Regions from separate parts of the Homo sapiens genome. Here all the other regions are linked to region 2. Evidence: promoter capture Hi-C in 16 types of primary human blood cells and fetal thymus (Javierre and others, 2016). All regions are on one chromosome and are shown on one strand. Each heading gives the region's core, a stretch centred on a gene start or on the middle of the fragment in contact. The rest is flanking DNA. Distances are from core to core; before and after follow the strand shown.

The links. Contacts are between HindIII fragments. The CHiCAGO score rates a contact against its expected background, and 5 or more counts as called.
Region 1: a fragment that was not itself captured here is called in contact with the fragment with the promoter of SYBU in region 2 in 1 of 17 cell types (endothelial precursors); the score reaches 5.3 in endothelial precursors.
Region 3: a fragment that was not itself captured here is called in contact with the fragment with the promoter of SYBU in region 2 in 2 of 17 cell types (total B cells and naive B cells); the score reaches 11.0 in total B cells.
Region 4: a contact is called between a fragment that was not itself captured here and the fragment with the promoter of SYBU in region 2, in 2 of 17 cell types (total B cells and endothelial precursors). The highest score is 5.6, in total B cells.

The regions. Positions count from the first base shown.
Region 1 is chr8:108,868,730-108,875,051 of GRCh38, forward strand. LOC101927413 (a long non-coding RNA gene) reads right to left here. Exons shown (of 6, transcript NR_188035.1): 5 at 5,815-5,882; 6 at 1,285-3,001. Among named protein-coding and RNA genes, the nearest start is that of TMEM74, 84 kb to the left of the region's middle. The HindIII fragment of the contact is 3,600 bases long and covers 3,075-6,322 here.
Region 2 is chr8:109,642,663-109,649,105 of GRCh38, forward strand. It overlaps SYBU (syntabulin), which reads right to left and starts at 2,160. Exons shown (of 7, transcript NM_001099754.2): 1 at 1,974-2,160; 2 at 66-270. The coding sequence starts at 1,997. SYBU-AS1 (SYBU antisense RNA 1) reads left to right here and starts at 1,467. Exons shown (of 2, transcript NR_161375.1): 1 at 1,467-1,560; 2 at 2,456-6,443. RefSeq lists a silencer at 1,925-2,414 and enhancers at 1,927-2,863, 2,525-2,844. The HindIII fragment of the contact is 4,274 bases long and covers 603-4,876 here.
Region 3 is chr8:108,927,020-108,933,879 of GRCh38, forward strand. The region is part of intron 1 of LOC101927413 (a long non-coding RNA gene); the gene reads right to left. Among named protein-coding and RNA genes, the nearest start is that of TMEM74, 140 kb to the left of the region's middle. The HindIII fragment of the contact is 191 bases long and covers 2,429-2,619 here.
Region 4 is chr8:108,907,403-108,913,990 of GRCh38, forward strand. The region is part of intron 3 of LOC101927413 (a long non-coding RNA gene); the gene reads right to left. Among named protein-coding and RNA genes, the nearest start is that of TMEM74, 120 kb to the left of the region's middle. The HindIII fragment of the contact is 3,273 bases long and covers 2,814-6,086 here.

The sequences.
Region 1 (6,322 bases), core at 3,625-6,124, 770 kb before region 2:
TTCTAGCAGAAGTAGACCACACAAATATACAGATTACAGAAATCTACACAATAACTTGACAAATGGAGAAGAAAAATGCTCTAAGACAAGAGATTATCACTAGCTGGTCTTATTAATTAAGAAATTATAGGATGGAGTACAATGGAGAAAAATTCACTGACTTATATTTGAACTCAGACACCTCAAACCTAAGTGAAGGAACAAACAGAGCTCCCTAATTCTAATTAAATCACTTTATTCAGTGGGAATTACTTCTGCAGCTATGTCAGAACTCCTGCAAATTGCTTCATATAACTCTATTCTGTACTGATACTGTAGTGGTGTATCTTGAGGAATGTTCTTATTGAATGTAAGGGAGTAAGGGACTTTGATCCAACACCCTGGTACTTGTATTTCCTAAGCAGTACTGTTACTGCCAGTATGTTTGAAATATTGATATGTAATTTTCAAAAATGAAGACACCAGATAGCAGCATCATACAATCAGTACAAATTTTGGACAAAGACCAACTGTTGGTAAGGATGCAATTGGAACTCTCCAACATTGACAGTAGGAATACAAAATGATACCGCCACATAGGAAATAGTTTGGTATTTTTTTACAGTGAAATATACACTTACCACACAAGAAGAAACTATAATCCCATGTATTTACTCAGGATAAATAAAAACATTCTGTATGTTGATACAAAGGCTTATAGTTCAGTGACCATAGCGACATTATTCATAATAGTAAAAAAGAAAACTGGAAGCAACTCAAATGCCCATTAACTGAAGGATCAATTTAAAAATCGTGGTATATCCATTCAGTGAAATACTACCGATCAATATAAAGACAAACTGCTGATATGTGCAAGTTAGATAAATCTAAAGAGCATTAAGCAAGGGAATAAAGCTAAACACATATGACTGTATTCTGTATGATTTCATTTCTATGAAATTCTAGAAAAGGCACAGGTTTGTAGTGACAGAAGCAGATTACTGACTTCTAGCAGGCAGGACAAAGGAAAGAGATTGACTTTAAGGAGGCACAAGAAAACCTTTCAAGATGATGAATATGTTTTACAGTCATGACTGTAAGTGGTGTGTATATATATATTTTTGTATATAGATATTTGTGAAATATAGTATATATATTTACTATATACACAGTATGTATCTACTATATATACAGTATATATTACTACATATAATATGTATTTACTATATATACATATAATATATACTTTATATATACTGTATATATTTGTGAAAACAATCAAATTTGACACTTGAAATGGGCACATTTTGTTTTTTTGTAAATTATACCTCAATAAAGCTGATTTAAAAAAATATGAAGTAGTTATTTGTAAGAAAATGCATGGATTTCAAAAGTTTGATTACTGTAAGTCTCTAAGAAATACTTCATCTTATTAGGTGATGAGGGAGGATTTCCTCAAATTCTATGTCTCAATTCAGTTTGTTCCAAGTTGCATGGAACTACTGGTGGACAATATATGGGGATAAATATTTATATAATCCTGAGGAGGTGTAAAATAAACATAGAGATAAAGAAAAAGCATACCAAATCCATGTTATTAATACTTTTCAGCTTCTGAGAAAAATTGAAATAATTATTGTGATTTTTTTGTTGTTACTTAAGATATTTGAAATGTTTGAGAATACATCACATTAGAGAATCTGTGAACTATCAAATAAAATTTGATTGTTATTAGACTTGTGATTTATTTTAAAATGAATAAAATAATTAATGTTATTAGATTTTTAAATTTTGATTCAGATTTTAATTTTTAAAAATACAAACTAATTCTAAAATATAACCTAGGTCTTTGGGTACAAAGTCTTCTAAATTTATGGACTAAAAATATTCTCATAATTTGGCAATAGGCACTAATAAGAGTATCAATATCAGTCTGCAAGAGTAGGGTTCAAGATATATATATGTGTGTATATATATGCACATATATGCGTATATATATGCATATATATGCATATATATATGCGTATATATGTGTATATGTATGCGTATATATGCGTATATATACGCATATATATATGTGTGTATATATATATGCGTATATATATATATATATTCAACTTATTTCTATACCAAGTTCTAATTGTAATGAAGTGGTGAAATTCCCCTCCATCTCTTCTCCTTCCCCTTTGCCAAGAATCATTTGTCTCCCTAAGGCTTCAGGCTTTTAACAAAAAAAGCTAGCATTCCTTTTTTTTCTTTGTTTTCAGATACAAACACATTATTTCTTTGGGTGCCATAGCCAAGTAGCTTGAATGAAGTGTGAAGCAGGCAAGGAAGGAAGGCAAATAAGTGGATTTTAAGTAGAAGGATAAATCTATACATCGAAAATATTATCCTGCTACAGTATGAAACCATAAAATTTTGTATGTTCATTTATTTAGCCATTCCACTTCTAGAAAACACTTTTCAAGAATTACTCACTAGTGAGAACCATGTCTTAGCTGAAGACTGTCCATTACAGATTACACTCAATGACAAAAGCTGTTAGCAATCTAAATATCCAATGAAAGACAATTAGTTAAATAACTATGAGACAATTGCCCAATGGAACATTATTCAATCATGAAAATAATGTAAAAGAATATTAAAGAACATGGAAAGCTTCAAGATATACATTTAAGTTGGAAAAATCAAGTTATGTATGATTCTCTACTGCAAAAAACATATAAATATTGAGCAAAGCTCTGAAATATAGCTATTTCTGGCGATGTATCTCCAGTTTAGATCTCCTTCCTAAACCCCAGATCTGTTTTCAGTTTCCTGATAGACATTTCTGCTATGAAATCTCACAGCACCTCAAAATCAACATGTCCAAAACTGAGCATATCTTATATCCCTCCAAACCTGTTCCTTTTGTAGAGTTCTCTCTCTCAGTTAATGGTATTCAAACCAGACATCTGGGCGTCCTTGAATCTTCAATCTGCCGCCCACATTCATGTTCAGCAAATTTATTCAGCACCTGCTGTATGCCAGAAACTAGTCAGACCCTGGGTATTCCATATGGAAAAAAATAAACATGGTACCTGAATTCATGAAGCTTATTGTCTAGCAAGGAAAGCAGACACTAATTATATCATTGCAAATAAATAAAATAGTCACGTTTTGATTCTTTTATGAAGGAATAAAATCAGTACTCTGAGAGAGTGAGGACGGAGACATTTTAAATAGGGTGGTCAGGAAAGTCCTCTCTGAGAAGATGACATGAAGCTGAGAGCTGAAGTTTCCAGCCATGTGAAAGGCAGCGTGGCATGGAGGAGAGAATTATTGATAAAAGAAAGAGAAACAAGAAGCCTCCAGAAGGAATTGTAGAATTAAATTTATTTTACCTTCTAAAAATTTATTGAATATGTCTTTTTCTCTCTATCATTGCAGGCTTGACTCTTTTCTAGATCAAAATTATCTCTTGCCTCAATTATTCAAACATCCATAAAATGGCATTTCTGCTTCTGGATTTGTCTCCATCCCATCCACCCATCACATTGTAGCCAAACTGATTCTTTTGAGGCAAATTGGATCATGTCACCCCAGTGCTTAACACCCTATAAAAGCACACCATCACTCCTGGAACTAAGCCCCAACTCTCCTCTGTGGTTTATAAGGCTCTGCAAGATCTCACACCAGAATACTCACTCAAACTGTTTCCATTAACTGCCCTCCATTCTATACTTCAGACATACTGAACTTCTTTTATTTCTTCACACAGACTATTCTCTTACACCTTAGAGCCTTGCCAAAGCTGTACCCTCTACCTGAAGCACTTCCCCACTTCACTGTTTTATCTGATTAAATCTTTTACGTCCTTCAGGCCTCAGCTAAGATATTATTTCATTGAGATAGGCTTCCTTGAGTACCCAAGTTTGATGCCCTGGTTTTACAGCACACTCTCTTCCCTTCTCTTCCATTATCCTGTATTATAATCGCCCATTTACAGTCTGGTTCTTCAGACTGTAAATTTCACAATTTAGGGCCTTTTCTTTACTTTTTCCTGCTTTATCTTGCAAACCTAGCCAAGGTCTTGAAATACAGTAAGTGCAAAGGGATTACCTTTGCACTCTGGCAAAGGTGGGTCGATCGCTTAAGTCCTGGATTTCAAGACCAGCCTGGGCAAAATGGCAAGACCCTGTCTCTAAAACAATACAAAAAAATCATTTGGGTGTGGTGGCATGCACCTATAGTTCTAACTACTCTGGAGGCCATGATGGGAGAATCACTTGTGCCCCGGAGGTTGAGGCTGCAGTGAGCCGTGATTACACCACTGCAGTCCAGCCTGGGTGACCAACACTCTGTCTCAAAATAGAAGAGTATGGATGGCTTTGTTTCTTTTCAAAATTCTTCGTATTCTAAATATTTTAAAGATTATTTAAGTAGTACTATTCTACTGAAGAAAGAACACAGGCTTCAGATGGCTCATCAAGTACTGATATGGACATAAGTAAGACTTCCCTGATTATCCCAGGATATTAGGCTGAGCTGAATCTAGGAACAGTCTCAAAATTCAAGGTCCTGAGAGTGAGCAGGATCTGGTACAGTGGTGCAACATCACCTGTTTCAGAGCTGAAATAAATAAGGCTGAAATGGGAGAGCCCAAGGGAGAAGAAGCCTGTAGGGAGAGACCTAATGCAAAGCCAGGGCAGCCCATCCAATAGGTCCTCCTTCCGCAGGGACTGGGAAATAGACTGTACCCTATAGCCAGGCAACTGGACAAATTTTCAGATATCCATAGAAAGGAATGAGACATGAAGGGGTAAGTGGGAGAACAAACCTGGAAAACATTCCTGAAGCAGGAAAAAGATCACATCAATTCCGTTTTTGTGGGGAATTTACATCCTCAGCATCGGTGGAGAGGAAACATTTAATGCTACTGACAGCAGAATAATTTTATGGTTCAAAGACCATGGGAATGGGTGTCATGAGACCAGTATTTAGGCTACTAGCTTTTTGTGTGATCCCCAAGAGAGAAACCTACCTCTGTGCCTTGCTTTCCTCCTTTGTAAAATTAATGGATTACACTAGCTGATCTCTTAGGTTTTTTTTTTTTTTTTCAATTAAAACATTCTGTGTTCTGTCATTCTGGGCTGAATGCCCAAGGCATTCAACAAAATACATTTGTTTTAAAGAGATAGAGGAGGGAAGTAATTCACCTGTACTTATTTATGAAGCACAAAGTGAATTTTCTGACTTTCAGATAACACCTTGACACATGCTTGATAGTTGCTGAGTAAACTTGCTTTATATGTGATGAAACATACTAAATTTAAATTGACTCTAGTTTAACCTAAAAGCCATGGGAATCTGACACATTTCCACCCATAGAAAATATTAGAAGGATTTCATTTACTGCTAATGCTTGGTGCTAGAAACACTTGAAAGTCAAACACAAGTCATTTATTTTATGACTCATTTCTAACAACTTGAGAAAAAATACATTTAGTAACTCTGCGTCAGTGCTATGAAAAGAGGCAAAATAATGCTTCTCTAAAACTTAGAGAAAGCCACCTCTAAAGGAATATTTTGGGCATATTCTGCACTGGCTCTTTACTCCCAAAGGCTACTTGTCCCTGAAACAATCCCATTATGAGGTATCTCCCTCTGGTTGCAGGCAGAGGAAAGAAATTAGGTTTTTTGTTCCAAGTTAAGACCATCTTGCTGCAAGCCTTGTTCTGATCTTAGAGACCTAGAGACACCTGCTCCAACACCTGTGTAGTAGTCTGTTCTCACATTGCTTTAAAGAACTCCCCAAGACTGGGTAAAAGAAAAGAGGTTTAATTGACTCACAGTTTCACGTGGCTGGAGAGGACTTGGAAACTTATGATCATGGCAGAAGGCACCTGTTCACAGGGCAGCTGAAGAGAGAATGAGAGCCGAGTGAAGGGGAAAGCACCTTATAAAACCATTAGATCTCATGAGAACTCACTATCATGAGAACAACATGGGGGAAACTGCCCCCATGATTCAATTATCTCCATCTGGGTCTGCCCTTGACAGGTGGGGAGTATTGCAATTCAAGGTGAGATTTGGGTGGGAACACAGAGCCAAACCATATCAATCTGGCATTCTAAAATATGCTCCAGTCTTGGTTTACAATATTCAAGGCTGGAATTTCCCTGACTCATATCCCTTCCCTAGATATGTTTTCCTGATTGGAATTTTCAGGATCCTTAGGGTCGCAAGGAAAAATTACACACAAATTACCTTTAGTAGGTTTATGTTAGGAATTCTCCCCATAGGGTAGCATGTACAGGAATGTTACATTGCACTCAGACCATGCAAGACTGAGATGTAC
Region 2 (6,443 bases), core at 910-3,409:
CCATTCACAATGCACCTGCAGTGCACACGCTTCACGCCTCTGGTGGCCTCCCGAGGGTACTGTACCTGAGCAGAAGCTGTTGCTGCTAACGGTCCTCGCTGAGCGCCCAGAGCTGCTGGGGTTGAACTCTCTGCTCTCTTCCTCAGAGAAAGGAGACTCAGAGGCTGGGGACACTTTGTGCTGTTGTTGGGGCATATGGGGCCGAAGAATCAACCGGGGAATTCGGCTTCGAGAAATCTCCTTGTCATGATGCTGCACTCTGTGCTCCTTCTCAAAATTGGACATCAAAAAAGAAAACAAAAGGAAACGCGTTTCCCTCTCTTAACTCCTGTCGGTTCCTTCAAGGATCAATTTCTAAGAAATCACATTTCTGAGTATTGAGTCTTCACAGAGTAGTCCTTCTTATCTCAGTTGCTGAAATGAGCTTCAAAACTCTTCCAATGAGTTAACCTTTCTAATCTACTGAATAGCACATGTCTGTGTGGCACACACACACACACACACACACACATATACACACCTCCACTCACTAGCTGGAAGGCCATCCTACTTCCCTATGCTGGTCCTGACTCACCTTCCCACCCTGACTTCTATCACATTCAAGCTTCTGCCTCCCAAAGGCTCTTTATTAACACCACACTCTGGCTTACTTGATAGCCTTCAGACTTCCATTTTGCTTTCCCTAAATTAGCTGTGACAGTCTGACTTGTTTTCTTGTCTCCTCACAAAGTTGAACCCTATACCTGGAACAGTTATTTCCTGATAGCTCACACACAATTATCTTTAAAATCCCTCCTCTTCTGGACAGGATCTTAATTATTCGTTAATATCCTGGTACACAAGGCTTGTTGCCAACAGAAAAGCAAACACAAATCCGATACTCGGGAAGATGGCTCCACCTTTTACATCATCTTTAATTTTTGTTTTCCTTACAGGACATCCATAAGAAGAGATTTTTCTTTCTCCTTAAAAACGCAGCATGAAGTACCCTGCCATTTCGTGGTTTTAAAAATGCGTAACAGTAATATTTTCACAATGTTTTCCAACTTATAAAGTGCTTTTCCAACCATTTTCTCATTTGATCTTTACACACCAGACTGTACATAGAGAGCACACCAATGAATGTCCCTATTTTCAGATGAGGAAACAGGCTAAATGGGGTAGAGATGCTTAGGCAATTCTGCACACCATGCCAGAAGTAGAACGAAATTCAAATCCAGTGCTTTGCAGGGTCACCACCACCCTGCCTTATGAAAATGGATTCCTAGGAGGAGCGTTTTGCAAAAATTCCACTGCTTCCTCCAACCTCTGCCACTGAAAGGGACTCTTTGGCTTAGGTAACAAACACCCTTTCGAAACATGACCTACTGTTCCTTCCACCGGCTTACCAGGAAGGGTCACGGCCAAAATAAACACCTCTGGGAGGCCGGCACATGGCATAAATTGAAGGGTAAACCTCAGCAATGGGGAACTTCGGAGGGCCCTCAGGCATCCACTCTACCCGGGGGCCGCCAGCCGCACGCAGCCTCGGATTCGCCCTGCACATCTGCCGCCCAGCAGGTACCATGCGCCAGCCACTCCGCCGGGCACACCGCAGACCCTGAGCTAAGGCAGGGTCACTGACACGCGGGAGTCCTCTTTTCCCAGTCGCGGATGCATCAAATTCCTTTCATTCACATCACACACACAGGATATCAACTGAAAGCTACACCCCACAGTCCCAGTTTCAGGAGGTGGGATTAACCCTCCAATCATGTCATTCTCCAAAATCTATTCCTCCAGTACCACCTCCCCATCTCCTGGATCTCAACTCCTAAGCAATGCCTCCTGCCTTCTCCAGACCCCACCACCACCTCCTTCCACCTTTCCCCAGACTCTAAATGTCACCCCTCCAGCTCTCATCCCGCCGCTTCTCGCCCCGCAGTGCCCGCCTTCCCCGCCCTCCAGTGCCCGCACTGCCCCGCGCTCCTTACCTTGCTCTCGCGGAGGGGCCCCATCGCGCCGCTGCCCGCCGGCTCCTCGCGCCGCCGCTGCCGCCGTCCAGGAGGAGGCACCTGCGAGCACGGAGCGAGGAGACTGCGCTGAGCCGGCGCGGGCTGCGGGCGGCGGCTCTTGGTGAGGCTCCAACGCGCCGCCGCCGCCACTGCCGCCGATTGCTCTGGGCTCCGAGGGCACGCCCGACCCCGCCCCGGCCGGACACGTGGTGCCGCACTCGCTAGAGGCAGCTCCTGGGGCGCCTCCCACGCCCTCCCTCACCTGCGGCCTTCGGGGCAACTCGACCGCGCCTGGGCGCGCCCCACCCGCCCGATTTCCCCACGGCACTCCGCGCCCCCCCAGCCAGAGCCGGTGTCCCTCCCTCTCCAAGGAGCTCGGCCCGGTGTAGGCAGGCTGCGGCTAGCGGCATCTCCAGCCCAGGGGTGACCCCACCCTCTTTTTTTTTTGCACTTGATCTCAGGTTTGAAGTGGGTGGCGTTGGATGGAGTGACTGAGAAAAGCTGCGACATCACAGAGAGACAAAATAGAGAAAGTTTTCCCCTGGCCACCCCTCCTTGGCCTCCAGGTCTTAAGTCAGCCTACAGCTCCCCACAACTGCCTCGCCCGAGAGCTGCAGAGATCCCTCTCGTACCGGAGCCCAGCCAAGCCAGTGCGTCAGGACCGACACAGCCTCTGGGTTCCGGGATCTGAAAGGCTGCGATGGATTCTACTTGGAAGGGGTTGCATCAGAAAGGCCTTCAGTGGTCAGCGCAGCTCCCTCCGGCTTGGAGAAGCCAGGCTGCTATGTAGCCAGAGAACAGTCTTTTCCCCAGCGCTGCCCTGCAGCTGCCCGGCTCCAGGAAGTAGCTCCAGCACACTGCTAAGGGAAGAGCACTGGAATTGAACTCAGAAAAACGAGTTCAAGCCAGCACTCCAATCGGTCCCTTCAGCCTGAGTGCCTTTATGCCTAAAGTTTTTGTTGTTGTTTCGTTTTTTGTTTTTTTTTTTTTCCGTTGCTGTTGAAACGGCATCTCGTTCTGTGGCCCAGGCTGTAGTACAGTGGCGCGATCAGGGCTCACTGCAACCTCTAACTCCTGGGATCAAGGGATCATCCCGTCCAGGCCTCTCAAAGTGCTCGAATTACATGCGGATGCCATTGCATGCGTGGCCTACGCCTACGGTTCTTGACCCTTCTGAACTTCAAATTTACCCTTGTTAAATTGAGGGATAATAATAGTGATACCTACCTCTAGGATAGCTGTGAGGGTTAGGTGAGGAAAACAAACAGCTCTATCCAGCTGATTGAACAGAACTTTCCAAAGGGCAGCTAAGTCAGGTCCAGATGATCCAGTCAATATTTGTTGATGCCTTTTACATGACAGGCAGAAAAAGCATTTGTGATGCACACAAATTTGTTTAAGAAAGCTCGAAAATCTGTCCAACTGGGGACTTAGAATAGGGTACATCAGCTGGGCCAAGGGCCTTGATTTATTACAATTGCTACCCTTAAATCTTATCTGGTGGTGGAATTCACCATGTATAATGACTTATATACCCTTTATTCAGAATTGGAGAATATTCCAAGCAGTGCGACACTCTGATCCTTATGCACCAGTGTCCTACATAGGAGGACTGTGCTCCTCGAAAACTGAGGGTCATTGTCCCCTTTCATCCATCCTCCAAACAGCATTTCTGAGTCCTCAACTCTCAAGCCTAAGAATATATGTTGTGAGTCTAGAGAGAGCCTGAAGCCAGAGGATTAGTGGAATCAATTTCCCTTCTTCCTATAACTCCAAAAGAGAGCTTCCTCCATAAATCTTCATGCCTTTTCAATCTACTTAGCTCTCTCAAGCAGTGAGGTTGGTAATTTTAAGATTCTTTATTTGGGAAGAAGAGGTGATTAATTCATACTTTCTACACCCACAGCTGTTTCAAATATGGACCTCAGGAAAGTGATGGTCCAGGATGATTCATACAACTTATTATTCCTAAAATTATGAGCCTGGGATCATATACTGTGAGATAAGAACAAACTTTTAAAGTTAATGGATGCTTCTGAGTTCCCTACTTAGAATTGAGAATTGACACTGGGGACCTAATAGCAGAAACACCCTCCACTGAGTTAGCCAAGTCAGAACCTCAGTGTCATCGTGGACTTTTTTCTCTCATTCACCTGACCCACACATAGCATAAACCACCAAGTGATCTCTATGCCACCCAAGTAATAACGGTCTTGAATCTGATTACTTCTGTCCACTATTTGTCTCCATTATCTTCGTGTAGAGTGTAAACCACAGTCACCCTAGATTATTGCAATAGTGGTCTAACTCAAGGTCTCTTGCTTTCAGCCTTGCCTCTTATTCCTTTCTCTCCGATCAGTGTCTCCATTTTTCCACAAGCCTTTATGAAAAGCTAAATCAAGTCATGCTTCTCCGTGAAAACTCATTAATGATTTCCTGATTGTCCTCCAGGTAATACTGAAACTCCTTAATGTGGCACACAAGGCTTTCCTGATCTGGCCGCCTTGTTTACCTCTCCGATCTCATTTCTTGCCACTCCTCTCTTTTGTAGATACTCCCTCCCCTCCCTAACCTGTCCCTTTGGTCCCTGCCACTCTTCCCTTACATACAAATGGATACTGCTCAAACTGTAGCACTTTCAGTTCTCGGAGGTGGAGGTTTTGTATTCTCTTTTTCGTCGAGACTGCTGCACCTGCCTCTGTTTAGAACATTTCTTGCACTACATCCACCTATCCTCCTCAACTCTTAAAGATACATTGTTTCATTTTAGACAGCTTCTTCCAGGAAACCTCCCCTGATGATTCCAGGACACTTATTTTTACCCCCAAGAGAGCTGTTATGATCTCCTCAGAATTCCCCATTTACTTGTTTGTTTTCACCAAAGCTTGTAGGCAGTGCCTAGTACAATTCCTGTTATACAGTTGACACTCAATACATAACTGTCAAATGAATTAATGCCTGAATGAGTGAATTCTATAACCCCATAAGGGGCCCATCAGTGCAAGATAAAGAACATAGATACAACTTGTTTTGAAAATGATTCAGATAAAGCTGCCTCCACAATGTATTTGTATCTGATGATTGGGTGTGTGCCTAAAAAATCCAACATGTGTTCAGTGACAGCTTTTACTGCAGAAGTGCAGGCACTGAGAGGCTGTGCAGTAGCCTTGCTGTCGCCATAGCAACCTAGCAGAGGGAAAGGCTGATGATTTAGTGTTCAGATGCCTCTTAGCTCTGTACTTTTGGAACCCAAGCCTGTTTTTCCACTGTTCTAAAAGGCAAGTTTTACCGATGATAATATCTATGCCGCCTTAATTTCATTCAAGTGTTTCTCATGTCATTAGAAGAAATGTCTTGTAACATTTGGATTATACCATCAAAGAGATATAATCTAATACAGCATAATATGGTCTTCTTTCCCCTGCTTTAAAATAGTCTTATGCATCATTTTCATTTTTTACTTAAAGACTTACTTTATGGTCTTGTTTTATCACCTTTTGGCTTCTTTAAAAATTAATGTATTTCTGGCTTTTAGAAAATATCAATTGCTTTAGGATTTAACCTTGAAATATTATAAATAATATATAATAATATATATATACAATAATATATATATATAATATATATATATATCTCCTGGCAAAGCACAGGAGAGATAGGGTATTGTAGACTGGGAAGGAAGGTAATGTCTTTATATAATTATTCCCTCAAATCTGGGATAAGTTACTTGATTGTTTATGTGAAATTTGTAATTAAATGATTCCTACCTTTCGTATGCACAAAACTTTATATTTTCAGAACTCTTTCACATATATAATTTTATTTGAGCCTCACAAAAATCCCGTGAGGTACATGTGGCCAATCTCTGAGACCAGATAACTGAAAAAGCATAGATTTTTATTAATAGGAATCCCCTAGACTGCAAACTTCACAGAGAAGACAATACAAATGCACTGCTGAAAAGAAAACGCCTGCACCAAACAACCCAGACACATCACGGTCCCTCACATTCACTCTTCCTCACATCTCACCTGTGTATGCAGGGGGTTTTCTTGGGCTCAATCAGGGCTGACAAAGCACCATCTCCTAATCCTATCAGCTGTGTGAGCAAGAGCTGCTGTCTCTCTCGGTGACCTAATGTTGGGTGATCTGCACAGCAACAAGGAGCAGCTGACGTGCTTCACAACACGTCACGAAGGAAAGAAACTGCATTCTGGGGCATCGTGAGATTTTTTTGTGTGTGTGGTGGGGTGGGGTGGAGACCCATATTTTTCTTACCAGGGAGAGAGCTGCCTGTTTTCCCATAAGAGCATGTGTGATTGATCAACCCTCCTCCTTTTTTTTTTTTTTTTTTTTTTTTTTGGAGACAGAGTCTCACTCTGTCGCCAGGCTGGAGTGCAGTGTGGTGCGATCTCAGGTCACTGCAACCTCCGCCTCCTGGGTTCAAGC
Region 3 (6,860 bases), core at 1,274-3,773, 720 kb before region 2:
CTTCTCAGGCATTCATTCACTTCATTCAACAAACTTACAAGGTGCCAGGAACTGACTAGGCACTGGACATACAGCTTTGAACAAAAGAGGTTTAGTTTGCCCCACGTCCACTTTGGTTTGTTTTAGTCATGACAAGGCTTCATGTTTGATTCCTTACTCTATTTTTCTAAAGTAAAACCATCCTTTCTCATGATGTGTTTGCCCTGACCATTGAATCCTATGGTTATATACTGGAAGGTTTTGTAACCTGAAAATCAGATTCCTGTGTCTTACAGAATCCAGATTCACATTACATTGTTTAACATATTTATTTTAAATTTGTAGATCTTTGGTTTTTGAACATTTGTGTTATTGATTACAATAACTGGCTTTATAGAATATTTTTGAGCTGTTGTGTTTACCTAATCCTGTATGCCAAAATGTCAATTGCAGTAAGTTTTTATGTTTGGTACATACATTTTTAAATAGTACTTAGAGAGTTCTTTCGGTGGGTCTATTCTAATGTTCTCTCTCTCTCTCTCTGTGTATACATATGTGTGTGTGTGTGTGTATACACACATAAACACATACACATATATACATACATAAACACATTATACATATTTAAACACATGTAAATATGTGTATATCTATGTAAATCTATACATGTTTGCATGTCTATCTGATATGAGAGGGTATACTGGCTTTGCAATTTACAAATTCTATGCTTTTGTGCAGGTCATTTCACTTCTTGTTTTTCTCATATGCATAAATAGTGTAGTAGGGTGGTAAAATCTATTTCATAGAGTTAGCTGGATCTTAATATATATTAGCCATTATTTTGTTCATTTTTATTATTATCATCAAGTTTGGCAATCTCTACCTTGGTCAAGTATTTTTAAAATGCATCATTACACTTTAGACCAAAGTTCCCACAAATATTCAGTAGAAATTTGAAAAGAATTAACTCCATCCAGAGTCTTTTCCCATCTTTTCCATGACAATCAAACCCATATCTCAGAATTTTGCCTCTATTATCATTGGCTCATAACCTTCACACAAGTTTAAATATTTTTCTAGAATATGGCTCTCATTTTCACAGTAAAAAGCCTAGTCCTGTGTGAAAAACAGACACTGTGCTAAGATTTACACAATTTTGTCATTCCTCAGAAGAGCCTTCAAGATATGAGATGGGAATATTGTGTCTATGAAAGAATGTAGAATTCATACAGACATTACATATTTAAATAAGGCTGTAACATAGTAAGCAGCAGAGTCAGGAATCTAACCTGTGTTTGTCTGAACTCGAGACCCACTCTCCCTTATATTGTACTACCCATGGAACCTCCATGTAAAGGCACTCCTACTTGCATTAAATCTGTTGACTTTAAGGAAAGGTTGGCAATATCCTTGCTTCCTACTGTCTCATTCAAAGCCATTAGATTTTTACATTGGTTCCACCATGCCTACTTCGAAGACCACATATTAACTTTGTTTGTTTGTTTGTTTTTCAGACAGAGTCTCGCTCTTTTGCCCAGGCTAAAGTGCAGTGGTGATATCTCGGCTCAGATCCTGGGTTCAAGTGATTCTCCTTCCTCAGCCTCCCCAGTAGCTGGGATTATAGGCACCCACTACCAAACCTCGCTAATTTTTGTGTTTTTAGTAGACATGGGGTTTCACCATGTTAGCCAGGCTGGTCTTGAACTCCTGACGTCAAGTGATCTGCCCACCTCGGCGTCCCAAAATGCTAGGATTACAGGTGTGAGCCACCATACTCGGACTTAACTTTTAAAAGTCATAATTCCACCAATTTCCAGGTGCCTACCCAGTATGCATAAATTATTTATGCCAGAACCACAGTTCTCTTTTCTACTTCATAATCTTCTAGATGCTTAAGTAACTTCATTCTTCAAATGGACAACCATTTGTATACTATGGACTCATAAGGCTTTTACCTTCTCTTCATTCCACTTTAGCAATGAATCCACAGTTATGTCCTAAACAATGTCATCACTTTTCATCCATTTTTCACATCTGATATCTTGAAACTTGAAATGTGTCTCTCTGACTATAATTTTCTTCCACATTTTCTTACTTCTAAGCAATAGCATTATACTTCTAATATTTCCATATCTCATTATTCTCTCAAATTATTGAGGCTTTGCTTTCCTCCTTATCCAGGCTGGAATACATGGTTCACTGATTTATCTTTATTTCACAAGCCTCTAGGATTTTGTTACACCTCCATAGTTTATTTTAATCACTTTGTCAATTTCTACACCTAGACAAATCAGCTGCCCATTTTCTCTAGGCCTTTTGTTAAGCTGTGGAATTGTGCCAAATAACATCATATAATTTTCATGATTGGATCCATTACCAATGAATGAAATCCAAATACTGACAAGCCTTTAATATTGCTTTATAAATCCATTTATTCAATCTGACTTAAAGCTTCATTGAGCACTTCTCAAGCTGTCTCCTGCAAGATATTAGTATGTGTTCCTCTATATAGAAGCTCTAAAGTAAAATAATTTGGAAATGCTACATATTATATCTAATTCTTATAGATTCACAATTTTCATTTGCATATTCAAGGCTCTGAGAACTACTACAGCAAACATAAAACTTCACATAACATAAAGCTTCAATAATTTATTTGACTTTGAAATCCTTTATTCATTTATTAATTTGTAGGAATCATAACATCTCAGTCAATACATTTTAGGAAATGCCGTACTATACAAAGGGTGAGGTCCTTGTCTGGTTAGTTCACCACTGTATTCTCAACAGTTAGAAAGATGCCCATCTCAGAGTAGGCTCTCACACAGATACAAATATTGGATGAATAAATAAATGAAATAACTAAAGCAGTTTCTGTGACTTTTTCCTGATCTTTTCAATTTTATTAACCACACTACTGCACCCTCATTATCAAGTGAAGCTGGACATGACTTTGTTTTCCTATCACCTCAACATCTTTTCAAAACTTTGAATATTTTTTCATAATTCCCATCTCAGAAATATGTTTGAGTTTTCATGCTTAGTAATAAATATAGATGCTTAGGAGACATAGCTAGATGTCAATCTCTTTCAGATATTTCATTTAATCTCTTAATCCTGTAAAATAAGTAAAATATTCTCTTTTATGTAGGTGATAAAATTAAAACTCATACACACCACAGTTAGAATTTAAACCCAGAGCTGTTGATCTCCAAGGCATAGCTTCTTTCCCAGCCCCATTGTTAACCCCCACTTTCCAAAGATAATAGTCTCATTTTGTTAGATTCCATACTAGGTACAGCTTATGTAACAACTAGATCTACTAGTCCTTGAGCCCCACATGAGATTATAGCCCCGGCTAATACCTTAATTTCAGCCTGGTGAAACCCTGTGCAGAAAACTCAACTAATATATTCCTAAACTTTTTGCTTCCCAAGACTGTGAGATAATAAAAGGGCATTGTCTTAAGATGCTAAGTTTGGGGGAGGAGCCAAGATGGCCGAATAGGAACAGCTCCGGTCTACAGCTCCCAGCGTGACCGATGCAGAAGATGGGTGATTTCTGCATTTCCATCTGAGGTACCGGGTTCACCTCACTAGGGAGTGCCAGACGGTGGGTGCAGAACAGTGGGTGCAGCACACCGTGGGCCAACCGAAGCAGGGTGAGGCATTGCCTCACTTGGGAAGTGCAAGGGGTCAGGGAGTTCCCTTTCCTGGTCAAGGAAAGGGGTGACAGACGGCACCTGGAAAATCGGGCCACTCCCACCCGCATACTGCGCTTTTCCAACGGGCTTAGGAAACAGCACACCAGGAGATTATATCCCGCACATGGTTTGGAGGGTCCTACACCCACGGAGTCTCGCTGATTGCTAGCACAGCAGTCTCAGATCAAACTGCAAGGCAGCAGCGAGGCTGGGGGAGGGGCGCCCGCCATTGCCCAGGCTCACTTAGGTAAACAAAGGAGCTGGGAAGCTCGAACTGCGTGGAGTTTCTGGGGGCAGGGCACAGACAAACAAAAAGAGAGCAGTAACCTCTGCAGACTTAAATGTCTCTGTCTAACAGCTTTGAGGAGAGCAGTGGTTCTCCCAGCACACAGCTGGAGATCTCAGAACGGGCAGACTGCCTCCTCAAGTGGGTCCCTGACCCCTGACCCCCGAGCAGCCTAACTGGGAGGCACCCCCCAGTAGGGGCAGACTGACACCTCACACGGCCGGGTACTCCTCTGAGACAAATCTTCCAGAGGAACGATCAGACAGCAGCATTCGCGGATCATGAAAATCCGTGGTTCTGCAGCCACTGCTGCTGATACCCAGGCAAACATGGTCTGGAGTGGACCTCTAGCAAACTCCAACAGACCTGCAGCTGAGGGTCCTGTCTGTTAGAAGGAAAACTAACAAACAGAAAGGACATCCACACCAAAAACCCATCTGTACATCACCATCATCAAAGACCAAAAGTAGATAAAACCACAAAGATGGGGAAAAAACAGAGCAGAAAAACTGGAAACTCTAAAAAGCAGAGTGCCTCTCCTCCTCCAAAGGAATGAAGTTCCTCACCAGCAATGGAACAAAGCTGGACAGAGAATGACTTTGACGAGCTGAGAGAAGAAGGCTTCAGATGATCAAACTACTCCAAGCTACAGGAGGACATTCAAACCAAAGGCAAAGAAGTTGAAAACTTTGAAAAAAATTTAGACGAATGTATAACTAGAATAACCAATACAGAGAAGTGCTTAAAGGAGCTGATGGAGCTGAAAGCCAAGGCTTGAGAACTACATGAAGAATGCAGAAGCCTCAGGAGCCGATGGAATCAACTGGAAGAAAGGGTATCAGTGATGGAAGATGAAATGAATGAAGCGAGAAGGGAAGTTTAGAGAAAAAAGAATAAAAAGAAACGAACAAAGCCTCCAAGAAATATGGGACTATGTGAAAAGACCAAATCTATGTCTGATTGGTGTACCTGAAAGTGACAGGGAGAATGGAACCAAGTTGGAAAACACTCTGCAGGATACTATCCAGGAGAACTTCCCCAATCTAGCAAGGCAGGCCAACATTCAGATTCAGGAAATACAGAGAACGCCACAAAGATACTCCTCGAGAAGAGCAACTGCAATACACATAATTGTCAGATTCACCAAAGTTGAAATGAAGGAAAAAATGTTAAGGGCAGCCAGAGAGAAAGGTCGGGTTACCCACAAAGGGAAGCCCATCAGACTAACAGCGGATCTCTCGGCAGAAACTCTACAAGCCAGAAGAGAGTGGGGGCCAATATTCAACATTCTTAAAGAAAAGAATTTTCAACCCAGAATTTCATATCCAGCCAAACTAAGCTTCATAAGTGAAGGAGAAATAAAATACTTTACAGACAAGCAAATGCTGAGAGATTTTGTCACCACCAGGCCTGCCCTAAAAGAGCTCCTGAAGGAAGTACTAAACATGGAAAGGCACAACCGGAACCAGCCGCTGCAAAATCATGCCAAAATGTAAAGACCATCGAGACTAGGAAGAAACTGCATCAACTAACGAGCAAAATAACCAGCTAACATCATAATGACAGGATCAAATTCACACAAAACAATATTAACTTTAAATGTAAATGGACTAAATGCTCCAATTAAAAGACACAGACTGGCAAATTGGATAAAGAGTCAAGACCCATCAGTGTGCTTTATTCAGGAAACCCATCTCACGTGCAGAGACACACATAGGCTCAAAACAAAAGGATGGAGGAAGATCTACCAAGCAAATGGAAAACAAATAAAGGCAGGGGTTGCAATCCTAGTCTCTGAAAAAATAGACTTTAAACCAACAAAGATCAAAAGAGACAAAGAAGGCCATTACATAATGCTGAAGGGATCAATTCAACAAGAAGAGCTAACTATCCTAAATATATATGCACCCAATACAGGAGCACCCAGATTCATAAAGCAAGTCCTGAGTGACCTACAAAGAGACTTAGACTCCCACACAATAATAATGGGAGACTTTAACACCCCACTGTCAACATTAGACAGACCAACGAGACAGAAATTTAACAAGGATACCCAGGAATTGAACTCAGCTCTGCACCAAGTGGACCTAATAGACATCTACAGGACTCTCCACCCCAAATCACCAGAATATACATTTTTTCAGCACCACACCACACCTATTCCAAAATTGACCACATAGTTGGAAGTAAAGCTCTCCTCAGCAAATGTAAAAGAACAGAAATTATAACAAACTGTCTCTCAGACCACAGTGCAATCAAACTAGAACTCAGGATTAAGAAACTCACTCAAAACCACTCAACTACATGGAAACTGAACAACCTGCTCCTGAATGACTACTGGGTACATAACGAAATGAAGGTAGAAATAAAGATGTTCTTTGAAACCAATGAGAACTAAGACACAACATACCAGAATCTCTGGGACATATTCAAAGCAGTGTGTAGAGGGAAATTTACAGCACTAAATGCCCAGAAGAGAAAGCAGGAAAGATCCAAAACTGACACCCTAACATCACAATTAAAAGAACTAGAAAAGCAAGAGCAAACACATTCAAAAGCTAGCAGAAGGCAAGAAATAACTAAAATCAGAGCAGAACTGAAGGAAATAGAGACACAAAAAACCCTTCAAAAAATTAATGAATCCAGGAGCTGGTTTTTTGAAAGGATCAACAAAATTGATAGACCGCTAGCAAGACTAATAAAGAAAAAAAGAGAGAAGAATCAAATAGACACAATAAAAAATGATAAAGGGGATATCACCACCAATCCCACAGAAATACAAACTACCATCAGAGAATACTACAAATACCTCTAAGCAAATAAACTAGAAAATCTAGAAGAAATGGACAAATTCCTCGACACATACACTCTCCCAAGACTAAACCAGGAAGA
Region 4 (6,588 bases), core at 3,200-5,699, 730 kb before region 2:
AGGAGGACAGGTAGAGAGGTCATTAAATTTAGCTATGGAAATACTCACTCATGAGCTGAGAGTTAGGGCAGGAAGTGGTTGTTTGAGGTTTGAGGAGAGAAAAAAGGTGTAAAATGGCTATGTAGATTGTGCGAAAGTGAGCAATTACAGAAATGTCAAAGAAAACAAGAACCTTCCTGTACTGTTGAAAGTGTAAATAATGTAGCTATTTTGGAAAGCACTTGGTAACATTCAATGAAACAAAGCATGTGTGTATATGCTATTTATCTGCTATTAAATTATTTGCAATATATTCCAGAGAATATTTTAAAGAGACACAGAAAGATGTGTGGGCAAAAATTTGCACCCAGCATTATTTCCATAGTAGAAATGTGTCCATCGGTTGAGAGATGGATAGATAAACTGTCAAAAATGCATGCAGGAGTCAAAAGAATGGGTAACTTATGGACATATTACAAGGCTAGATGTCTAATACATCATGTTCAGTCTAAAAAGGCAGAAGCAGAATGAGAAGCATAATAAAGTATCTTCAAATTAAACACACAAAATGATATTGCATATTATTCTTTTGATACAGATGTTTAAACATTGGTATAGCTGGTGGGAAAAAAAGAACGAGGTCTAGATAAAAGATGATGATAAACATTAAAGTAAAATAAAATGAGGGCTGGCATGAATTAATGATAACAGTTTGCAATAACTCTGATTAGTTTATTGTATATTCAAAGTCCCCCAAACACAACAATAAAAAAATAAGCTGGGAGCAATGGCTCACGCCTGTAATCCTGATGCTTTGGGAGGCCGAGGTGGGAGGATGGCTGGAGCCCAGGAAGTTGAGACTAGTGATATAGCCTAGAGAGAGCTTGTCTCTAAAAAAAAAAAAAAAAATTAAAAAAACACAGAATACTAGATATAGAAAATAAAATAGTGCACATATTGTTTACAAAAAACAAATTTATAAGCATCTGCTAGAAATTTCAGAGGAGGGAGATCCTCTAAGTTTTCCAGTGAGCAAGGAAGGATGAGTAGAAATTACAGGACTTCTATAGTACCCATTATTACTCATTTGAGACTTAGGAGAGATCATTGATAACAAATTTATTTAGTGTGTCAAGTTTATTGTCCTATTTTAGTTAACTTAAATGTTGATGAAGACTTTTCTTAAGCTTCATTCTAACTTTTACTCCTGTCCATATTTTTCACCATAAGATTTGATTACCTCAACAGACATATACAATGGGTGTTTGGAGAAAGCTAAACTCCAAGATTTGGGATGTATACTTATATTACTGTTTTTTTCCCCCCAATTAACTTTGCCTGGTCCCTTCTTGTGTTGAGTGCAGGATCTCCCAAGTGTGTTACTGTTAACCTTTTGAGCTGGATAACTCTTTCCTATTGGGGGAATGTCCTGTGTATTTTAGGATTTTAGCAGCATACCTGATCTCTACTCAACAGGTACCAGTATGACAACCAAAACTGTCTTCAGATATTGCCAGATGTCTTCTGAGAGTTTATCAGAAAGCTAAAGTAAAGGTTAAGTAATTCTTAAGAAGTTGATCAGATTTACTGTATATTCTTCCATAAACTGCCTACTCTCTGCAGAGACTCAGTGCATATCGAATCCCATAAAAAACAATGTATAAGAATATTCAAATAACAGAAATGTATGTCATGAGTTTCTGTAGGGACACTTGAAAAAATACTTTAATATTTAGATAGTTAGGTCAAATCAGATGAAATTTTGATATTGAACCAACATGGCAGTTTCATATTGTTCCACCTAATATTTATCAAAAGCTGCTATTGTGTTGTTTATTTCCCCTGTTAGAACTTAGTTTCCCTGAGCATTCATTGCAATATCTTTTACTTCTAATACAGTGTCTAACACAGTGCGTGCACTCTGTAAACATGGATCATAAATGCTAATTAACACATACGAACACAATTATACATTTAACTAGAATAGTTATAGGAATATATAAGACATTATTTAATGGCAGAAAACATCTTTTGCTGTAGTGACTTGAAAAAATTTTGACCTCCTCAAGATGTTCATTACATAATTTTAGTCATCTCATGCATTTCTTCATCTGATAGTTCTAATATGAGCTTCAGAGTGGGACATTTCAAAGTTTGAATTCCAGCAGCATTGTATGCCAGCTGTCTGGCCTGGTCTGTAAATAAATATGACAATACTTACATCAATGGATTATTGTGATGATTAAATGTCACAACATATACAAAACACCCAGCGCAGTGTTAGCTCAGGTCTGGTATTCAATGAATGTTAGGTAATTTTTGTTTTCGTTTTTGTTTTTTTCCCTAGGTACCCATTCCTATTGATTAAAGTTCTTAGGATTTGCCTCTTTTTGGGTTTCTTTTTGTTTCTGACATTTTTCTTCAACTTGGATAATATTTTTCAGCTGAGGATTTATTCAAGCAAAGTAGGAATTCAGGGGCTGTACTATGCCTATTTCATTTCTCAAGCTAAAAATAAATTTCCATTAACTATACATATAGATGTGTATTTACTTGAATTCTGTACTTGGTTGATGAACAGAATTTTATGATTTGCTTATTATTAGAATTTAACCTAATGACCTCCCACTACAGTCATACTTCTTAAGGTATTTAACGTTGAAATGCAGTTTATTTAATCTTTGCGCATAGGAAGAATAATTATATTGTAATTGCACAATTGTTAAAAGATATCAAGTGCATTTATGCATTTTCCATTTAAGTTAAATTATACACTAAGCATAATAGCTTAAAAAATACTTCTTTTTTACTTAAAATGTTTTTCCTTCTAAGAAAGCTTACAAATTAAATCTCACAAAGATAACCTGATATCTTAAAAAGATCACACACGTTGTACGCAGAGCAAATGTCATCGTTCCAGAATTTTATTTTTTAAAGGGAGCATTTAGTTAATACAAATCAATTTGCAAAAGTGTTTCATTCCCTTTTTGGTTCCAAAATGAATTGAATTCTCCCTTATTATTTGATTCTAATTTATTAGCAGTTTCAATATCTGCTCCTACAAAAATGCCACCCTTTTGCAACCAGAAATACTTTCCAAGAATATAGGACAACTAAATCAGTTTAATAATATATTTCATATAGCAAGCAAAAAACCCTTCAAAAGTTGATTTTAAAACATCATAATACAAAAGAATAAAAAAATAGTTAATACCAAGAGTTTAAAAATCACACCAAAACCTACCTTCTTTGCAAAAAGGTCTCCAGATACCGACTCTACTTGCTTTGTCTTGCTCTGCAACTCTAGGAGATAATCCTGGCTTATTAAATGCACTCAACTCTAATAATGCACACTTCGGGGATAGATGTAAAACAAAAGGAAGAGTACATTTCAATATGTTGACACTTCTCTTGTGTACATTTCATTAGCCAAGATGCACTGTGCATGAGCACACACGCACACACACATACGTTCAGCACTCCAACCATTTCCTTTCCCAGCTTAGAAAAATTGAGTGTGCCATTCTTCCCCTTTCTGACCTTTTTCATGTCCATTGAGATGAAAACCTTCCACACTTTCCCTTATTTCCTTATTTATCATGATAATATTGTCTTCAAGTCACTTTGCCCCTTGATCCCCTTAAGAAGGTGTGGCTCTTACTCCATGAAGACTCAGGGATTCCCCTTGCTTTATTCTATTATTGATTTGGCAGTTGTGGGCACATTCTAAATGGCAGATACTGGAGAAGCAAAGATGAACAAACTTAGATGAGCTTCATCTGGCTGTAGTCAAACTAATTATGTGTCTTCATCTGTCATGTTATATATATGCCCTGTCCCATTTACTTCGCACAAAAACAAAGATATTATTTTCTCCATTTCAGAGGGAAGAAAACCATTTCATGGAAGTTCAACAATTTCCCCAAGGGCACACAGCTAGTAAGCAGAAGAGCTGAATTCATAACTCACGTTTCTGACCCCAAAGCCTACAGTCTTTCTTCTCACTGCTGATTTCCCTGACCATCTGACCTATCCCACTGAGCCCTGACAGCACCGTTGTATCTGCTTGTATGACCGGTCATTAGATCTGTGCCCTAGTACACCCCCACTTTATCCCTAGGCTGTGGGGGTTATTGAAGGTCTTGCTTCCACCAGACATAGAATGGAGCAATAATTTCCTCCATGACCAAATCTAGCTACACCTCTTCTCCCATACTTTCTGCTCCCTCCTCCTGAATGAGTTTTACCCATTTGATTTTCTGTAATCCCCTCCCACCCCACCTGCCACACACAATTATGTGTGTATGAAGTGTTCTTCATGCACTTTGCACAAGGTGAGGAAAGTTCAACAGTAATTCATTATATATGTGCTGCAATCTCAACTGTTGATTTTAGAGTCTCAAAATTTTGTTGTATAACCAGGACAAAAATGTTACTATACAAGTTTGGTCTCCAGAGATTTATTAAGGAAGTGGCATTCTTTGTTGTCATTAAGCCTAGTTTTTTTCTTGTGCTTACTAAGAGTTGTGAGTAGAAATCTAGAGCTTCTTTATGAACCCCCCCACCCCCCACATCTAACATCCCAACAGAAACCCAGAATTTACAAACTCACTCCCAAAACTTCCAGTTATCTTTACTATATGAGTAGATTTCTCCAGGTCCCTAGCAACTGCTGTCAATATGAATTGTTTTGCTATAACTTTTGAGTGACTTTGGAAACCTTAGTTTTCAAGGAAGTTTGGTTTGATTTTAATCAGAAGCAACTACCTATAGTGCTTTCTGACAGCCTGCTAAGTGCTTTGGCTGAAGTCCACTTTTTCTTTTTATTTGCTACCTTGATCTTAAGAGGTATGCACTTGGCATGCAAGCAAAGTTGTAGAAAGGAAAATAAAAGGCAGCTCAGCCAAAATGTCTCAGGATATTTTTTTAACTTCCTATTTATGGTTAGACATATATAAAGGCTTATTGTAAAAGTAAATAAAAAAGAAGCTGAAAATACATAAGCATATAGAGAAAAAATGCCCTTATGTCATATTATTGAGGCAAACTACTTCAAAACTTAATATCCTTTCAGCCTGCTACATATTTCAGTGAAAAAGGGAAAAAAATGAACATAAATGGTAAAAGTCATAAAGTATGTTGGCTAGTGGTATGTATCTGCCTTGGCAAGTTAAGGCTGCATTAGAAATTCTTTTCCTAGAAAGAAATATTTAGACAAAAACCAAAAGATTGATTTAATGAAACTAATGGGTACACTAGGAGAATTCCAAGTTTGCCTAGAGCTGGAGAAGCCAGCAGAAGGAAGAGGAAGACATTTATTTGATGCCTAATAATCCTGGACTCCTACTCCTCACAAAATTCTCAAATATTGTAACTCAAGGTGCTAACTTGGATCACTTTGCCCTCCCAAACCCACATACTAGTGACTTTATCTCCATGGCTTCTCTTGTGTAAAATAACTTTCAAGGAAACTTACAAACTAGTGGATGGGAATTTAAAAATTTACAATAAACATACTACAAGACAAAAGTCGGCTAGTACTATGAGAGGGATACAACAAAGTTAATTGCATGTTCAAAGGAGGGAGAGAACGCATTCGGTATTTTTATTGGTGAATAGAGAAAAAGTGTAGGGATGGTTGATGCAGAAGTACCTTTGCTACTGAGGTGGAGAATTGAACAGGAGAAATAATAAAGGAGGAAAAATTTCAAGAAATGTTCAGGATTTTTTTTCTTTCCCTGAAACACAGGTTACAGAGAAGAAACTACTAAAAACAGAGATATAGGAAAAATATTATAAAGCACCTTGAATGCCAAACTAAAAAGACTCTGGTTGCATTTGTTAAAAAATATTAGAATATTTCTGAGGACTGTGTAACAAGACCAGACCATACTTTAGAAAAAAATATATGGCCATGTCCTCAAGGAATGTGAAATATGAATACAAGGAGGCTTGCATTACAGAAGATGACATTCTTACACAAGTTGCACTAGAAAATAGAACACAAAAACCTGAAACTTTAAGACAGGCAAACCAGAAATTTTGACATAAAAGGACTCTAATATAGAGGACTGAGTAAGGAGCAGCTACTTAGGCTTCTAAACGGAAGCTTGCATAGAGATGCTTCCTCTCTTGCAGGTGGGCTGGAACTCCCTGCACTCCTGGTCACCCCACCTCCTGGGTCCTGCCTTTAATCCTTTTGTGTATAAGTCACTGTGGGTTTCTGAGGTTGCATGTGGGTGTGCAGGCAGGGAATGAGTGATTGCAGGTAAGCGTCCCTTGGGCACTGAACATCCCTGTTCAGCAGGGCTCATCACAATGACAATGAAAGCCAACAATAAGAGCCAGTGCAAGATTCTATCAGGCGTCCTCCCAGGCACAGGACCTCTGAGAACCCTCACTCAGCCTGTTAGTGAAAACCTAAAGCTGATGCCCACCTGAGGGAAGCTGCAGTATGTAGTCAGCCTGGCAGTAGCAATCAATGTTTACCTTGAAGAGACCTCCTTGAGTCTACCATCTCCAGCAACCCACAAAGTCGGCCATGCAGGCCCTTTTCTTATGGTGAAACCTCCTTGCCAGGCTCCTCATTGGTAACCTCCACATCTGGCT